Linked DNA regions of Homo sapiens: region 2 is linked to region 1. The links are contacts of gene promoters, found by promoter capture Hi-C in human tissues and cell types (Jung and others, 2019). All regions are on one chromosome and are shown on one strand. Each heading gives the region's core, a stretch centred on a gene start or on the middle of the fragment in contact. The rest is flanking DNA. Distances are from core to core; before and after follow the strand shown. Region 1 holds the start of MMP21 (matrix metallopeptidase 21). Region 2 overlaps CTBP2 (C-terminal binding protein 2).

Region 1 (2,879 bases), core at 218-2,717:
GGACAGGAACCGCTGTGGGAGAGAAAGGCACCCTAATCTGGGCCGCCTCGCTCGGGGCCCTCCCGGGCTGCCCTGCCCCAAAGTCTAGAGAGACAGAGACATGGGGATAGAGACAGAGACAGAGAGAAGCAGAGAGACAGACAGGGAGAAACAGATGGAGATAGCAATAGAAACAGGAAGACAGAGAGAGATAGAGATACAGAGAGAGCGGCAGTGAGAGACAGAGACAGGAGAGAGGTAGACAGGAGAGAAGGAGCGAGTCCTGGGCGCCTTCCTGAGTGCGGGCCCTGGATGGGCACCAGGCTGAGTCAGAGGCGCCCTAGGGCCGGAGGAGCAGGAGACCTGGGCAGCGGGGTGGGCGAGTGCCGGGAGGAGGTAAGAGGTCGCGGGGGAGGAAGACGCTCCCCCCGGCCTTGCGGGGCAGGTCGCGCAGGGCAGGTCGTGCGGGGCAGGTGGGGGGTGCCAAGGAAGTCCGGGCGTGGCCACACCGCAGAGAAAGCCATGGGAGGCACGTCCTGAGAGCTGGGAATTGGAACTGAGGGGCTTGGCAGTGGTTGGGTCTGAGGACCTGGGGGGCTTCCTCATGGCCGCACAGCGGGAGGGAGGTCAGCGGCCTCCACGCGGCTGCGGGCCTGGCCACAGGGCGGCTCTCCTGCTCCCTGCCCTGGCCTCTGGGGCACTGTGGGAGCTGGGGATTGGACTTGACCCTGAGCATCAGCTCCTGGCCTATGGTGACCAAAGGACCACGTGCCAGAGCAGGTGAAGGGGCCTCATGGGTCCACTCCCTGCCCGCCACCACGACTCTCTGGAGGAGGGGATCGCCTGCATTGGACCTCCTGGGTGCTTCACCACAGACTCCGGTGAAGTCCACGGATGCCACCCCAGACAGCTGTTAGGATCCTTACTATTGCGGTGTTGGGGAACCTTGCAGGGCTGTCCCCTTCTCTACATCCAGAGATTGGCATGGTGAGCAGCCACAGAATGCCTTCGGACAGTGCCTTGGCCACTACAGTATCACATGCTTGCCTTTGGAAAGGCACTTGGCATTTGAGTCTGTTGTCTGCGCACTGACATTTCTTTCTCACTAGGGCTGACCTGTGGGATTGTCGAATCAGGTTAAGCATCGATTCATGGTTGTTCCAATAGGAGCCACAGGAGCCACTCCTCCCTCTCAGCCCAGCCTGCCTGGCCCTTCTCTGCCTCTGCACAGCCGGCATCCTGGCCTGTGCCTGTGCGCGCGTGCGCATGTGCCTGTGTGCACGTGCACGGGCCTGGGGGTATTGCTGTTCTTCCAGCTTCCTCCTACCTGAGCAGCGTGGAGGTCGGCAATGGGCTTGGCCTGGCGCAGTGGGGACGGCTCCAGGTCCGAGCGGTCCCGGCTGTGGAAGAGACTCTCGGGCTGGGTGGGCCAGGGAGCAGCCAGCCAGCAGAGCAGCAGTGTCGGACGGAAGATGGAGGCGGCGAGCATTGGCCTGGTCTGAACCCTTGCCCTCCCTGCCTGGCTTCTTCCCCGTCCCCGTCACCTCTCCTTAAGGAGCAGGACCTAGGGTGGCTTTTATAAGCTACGCAGGAGGGAGCACCCAGGTTTCCAAGCATTTCTCACCCAGCCCTGAAGTGTGCCCGCTAGGAGGCCACGTGGCAGGCCCTGGGCGTGCTGCCTTTGAAGACCCCAGGCTCACCTTTCTTGTTGGTGTGAGAACTCCTTCTCTCAGCCTCCAGAGTTTGCCATGTCCTCCGATAATTACATCCTCCAGTTGCCAGTGCCTGTGGGTTCCATTTCTATGGAGATATACTGCGGGCAAGTTTGCCGCTAAATGAGCTGTGGAATTAACAGAGGCACGAGACTGCGCCCCTAACAACATGCCTCTCAGAGCTGAGCCTGAGTTTAAAAACCCTGACCGTTAGTTTGCTTACAGTTTGGGTCACTTTTTTTTTCTTGGTGAACTGGGGTTTGGAGATTTTTAGTTTGTTTCTCACACATTTTTTGTGTGGCTTTTCTTCTTTTTGTTTATCTTTATATAAAGGAGATCTTCTGAGCAGATAGTATAAATTGTAAAAGTACTGAGAATGAAGGAGACATTCTGTGATTCCGGTGGTGACATTTCAGTGAACATTCTTGCAGATACATATGCACAGATGCCTAGAGAAGTATTTGTGTGTGTCTCTCATTTTACATGAACTCTATTCTCTGTTCTTACAAGCCAGCACAACGTTACAGGCACTTTTCTGTTTCTGAATGTAAGTATTTATCGTTCTAGTTAATGACTGCACAGCGTCCCATTCTGTGGGTAAAGATTTTTATAGAAGGATAAACTAGAATCACCTCAGCCCACTACTTTTTCCCCTCATGGAGAAGCCTCAAGTTTCTTTGGGATCCTGAAGACAGAGCCCCTGAACTGGGCTTTTATCTGAGCAGATGTCCTCCTGAGAGTGCAGACTGACTGGGTCACAGCCGTCCATGGGAATATTGAGAATCATAGAAATACGGAGAGGCCAGGTGCAGTGGCTCAGACCCATAATCCCAGCGTTGCGGGAGGCTGAGGCAGGAGGACTGAGGCCAGGAGTTTGAGACAAGCAAGGGCAACAAAATGAGACCTCATTTCTATCAAAAAATGTTTAAAAATTAGCTTGGCATCGGCCGGGCGTGGTGGCTCACACCTATAATCCCAACACTTTAGGAAACCAAGGTGGGTGGATTGCTTGAATCCAGGAGTTCAAGACCAGCAAGAGTTCAAGACCAGCCTGGGCAACATGATGAAACCCCATCTCTACTAAAAATACAAAAATTAGCCAGGTGTAGTGGCATGCGTGCCAATAGTTCCAGCTACTTAGGGGAGCTGAGGCTGGAGGATCACTTGTGTCCAGGAGGTTAAGACTGA
Region 2 (2,700 bases), core at 166-2,665, 700 kb before region 1:
AATAAAAATGAAATGCGTGTCAGGCACCGCTACCACCAAAATGTCGCTATTGTAAGCGGAAAACAAGCCACTGATTGTGCAGAGCTGTGAATGTAGGTTTATATACATAAAGAAAAGCCACATTTTCAAGACACATGTAATGAGATGCAGGGTATAAGACACATTCAGCGTTTCCAGCATGTGTGAGCTGGGGAAGAGTTGGTTTCTGCAGAGTTGGTTTCTGACATCAGCAGGGATAAGGCGGCACCTGTTGGGGATGGAGTGACTCCCTTATCTGTGTTCTTAGAGCAACAGGACTGGAGACGGGGAAGGAAGAACCCCCATCTGGCTCCAAACTCCCCGGGCTCGCAGAAAGGGCTCACTCACCCCCTCACCAGGCCTGGCAGCCAATAGTAATCGGTGTGGTTCATTTTTTGAAGGGATCAAAGAATAAAGCCACATCCAACAGCACATTCTGGAAAGTTCTGGGCTTGGGATTACCAACAAAAAGGGCTCTCTGACACAAACAACTGGGAGCCTGCCTAAAAGAACCCTGAAAACCCAGGTCAGCTGAAGAAATCACCCATGAAAAAGCTGGGGGCACCGTGGTGATGCCCACCCCAGCTGATGCCCACGGGACCCCTGGCCCTCTGCCTCCCGTGTTCAACCTCAGCTCACCTCTCATTTAGTCCAAACGGGGCCACCATTTGGAGTCTGTTCTGTGATTTCAGCACCTGGTATTCAAAGTTATCTTAGGTTGTGGCTTAAGCAGCCAAGTCTGACTTCAGATTCAGCCCTGGGTGGTGCTGATGGGGGGAGGTGGGGGCTGCTCTGACCCCTTCATCACAATTCCCATAAGAACCTTTCTCAGGCCGGGCGCGGTGGCTCACGCCTGTAATCCCAGCACTTTGGGAGGCCAAGACGGGCAGATCACGAGGTCAGGAGATCGACACCATCCTGGCTAACACGGTGAAACCCCGTCTCTACTAAAAATACAAAAAATTAGCCAGGCATGGTGGCAGGCGCCTGTAGTCCCAGTTACTCTGGAGGCTGAGGCAGGAGAATGGCATGAACCTGGCAGGCGGAGCTTGTAGTGAGCCGAGATCGCGCCTCTGCACTCCAGCCTGGGCGACAGAGCGAGACTCCGTCTCAAAAAAAAAAAAAAAAAAAAACCTTTCTCATGGGAGGATGGGCTTGGGCGTTGAGATCAACAGAGGAGGGAGGTTCTAGGACATATTTCCTAGGCGAAGATAGGTCCAAGAAGATTATTTTTGTCTACAGCCTGCTAGAAACAAGGTCTTATCAATTATTATTGATTACAAAGCCACTTCGTCACCTCAAACTGCCTGTTCTGTGGCAACCCCAAGATTGTTCTACTTCCACAGCCTTTTTTTTTTTTTAAACCCAACACACACTGGCCATTTCCTCACAAATTCTACCAGGGTTGACTTCAAAGTGTCGGGGGGAAAGTGCTGTTTTGAGTTGACACGAGGTCACAGACAAGCCAAGCTGCGATGGTTGGGGACAGCTCTGGAGGCGGAGCAATCACCGGATCCTGTAGAGATGGCCAAAGCCAGGAGGACTTCTTCAGATACCTCTAGGGACTCATGACTCTCACCCAGGGCTTAATCTGACCCTTACCAATAATAATGTTCTTTCTTTTTCCTGCTGTGTTTTCCTACCATTCATTACAAATTTTAGACCAATCAAAAAATTTGGAATAACCAGGCCTGGCACGGTGGCTCGTGCTTGTAATCCCAGCATTCTGGGAGGCTGAGGCGGGCAGATCATTTTGGGGTCAGGAGTTCAAGACCAGCCTGGCCAACATGGTGAAACCCTGTCTCTACTAAAAATACAAAAAAAAAAAAACGAGCCGGGCATGGTGACGAGTGCCTGTAATGCCAGCTACTCGGGAGGCTAAGGAACGAGAATTGCTTGAACCCAGGAGGCAAAGGTTGCAGTGAGTCAAGATCATGCCACTGCACTCCTGCCTGGGTGACAGAGTGAGACCTTGTCTCGAGGAAAAAAAAAAAAAAAAAAAAAAGGTGGAAAAACCAGCCCCTGATGGGCCACCAGGAGCTTTCGGGAGCCTGCCCGGGATATCACCCGGCTCCACCATGTGTGACGCTCCTGCTCTAAAGTACACGGAGGACACAGGGCACAGCGCCTTTCACAGCCACTGGCTCACATGCCAGTCCACGGTTCCCAGCGGTGGCGGCATTCCTCTCCAGGGAGGAAAATGCTACAGAATATTCACCACCGGTCAATTCATCTGCCCGGTTGGATCTCCTTCCAAACTTAAAATCTAGGGATTCAGTCCTGCGAATGCCATACTCCGCATTCTCCTTACACAGATTGAGATCAACAGTGGGTTGGTTTCAATAAGATATGAAGAAACAATGAGGCAAGACCATTTTGAAACAGCCCATTATACATACAGAAAATCCAATCAAGCCTTGGCTACAAAAACAGAAGGGTGGGCCGAGCACTAGCATGTCATTAATTATTAATTCTCCTGTAATGTCCCAATATGGACTAAATAACCTATTCCCACAGGAAAATGTATTGTCATTGACAATAGAAGACCAAAATATCTATAATGGTTGCTAATTTGAATAGAATCAGTTCCACGCTTAGGACAAGTGACTATTCCAATGGAGAGTTTATTTACAAGGCATTTTCTCACATGATGCAGGGAGACTGATTTAGAAATTGCAATCC

Evidence for each region. The method cuts DNA at HindIII sites, captures the fragments that hold promoters and counts their contacts. A contact is called where the count stands out against the background at its distance.
Region 2: a fragment that was not itself captured here is called in contact with the fragment with the promoter of MMP21 in region 1 in 1 of the 25 tissues and cell types used here (IMR-90 fibroblasts).

Annotation. Positions count from the first base shown.
Region 1 is chr10:125,774,354-125,777,232 of GRCh38, forward strand. MMP21 (matrix metallopeptidase 21) reads right to left here and starts at 1,468. Exons shown (of 7, transcript NM_147191.1): 1 at 1,307-1,468; 2 at 1-12. The coding sequence starts at 1,468. The HindIII fragment of the contact is 11,499 bases long and covers 1-2,879 here.
Region 2 is chr10:125,077,150-125,079,849 of GRCh38, forward strand. The region is part of intron 2 of CTBP2 (C-terminal binding protein 2); the gene reads right to left. Among named protein-coding and RNA genes, the nearest start is that of MIR4296, 46 kb to the left of the region's middle. RefSeq lists an enhancer at 1,617-2,118. The HindIII fragment of the contact is 4,893 bases long and covers 1-2,700 here.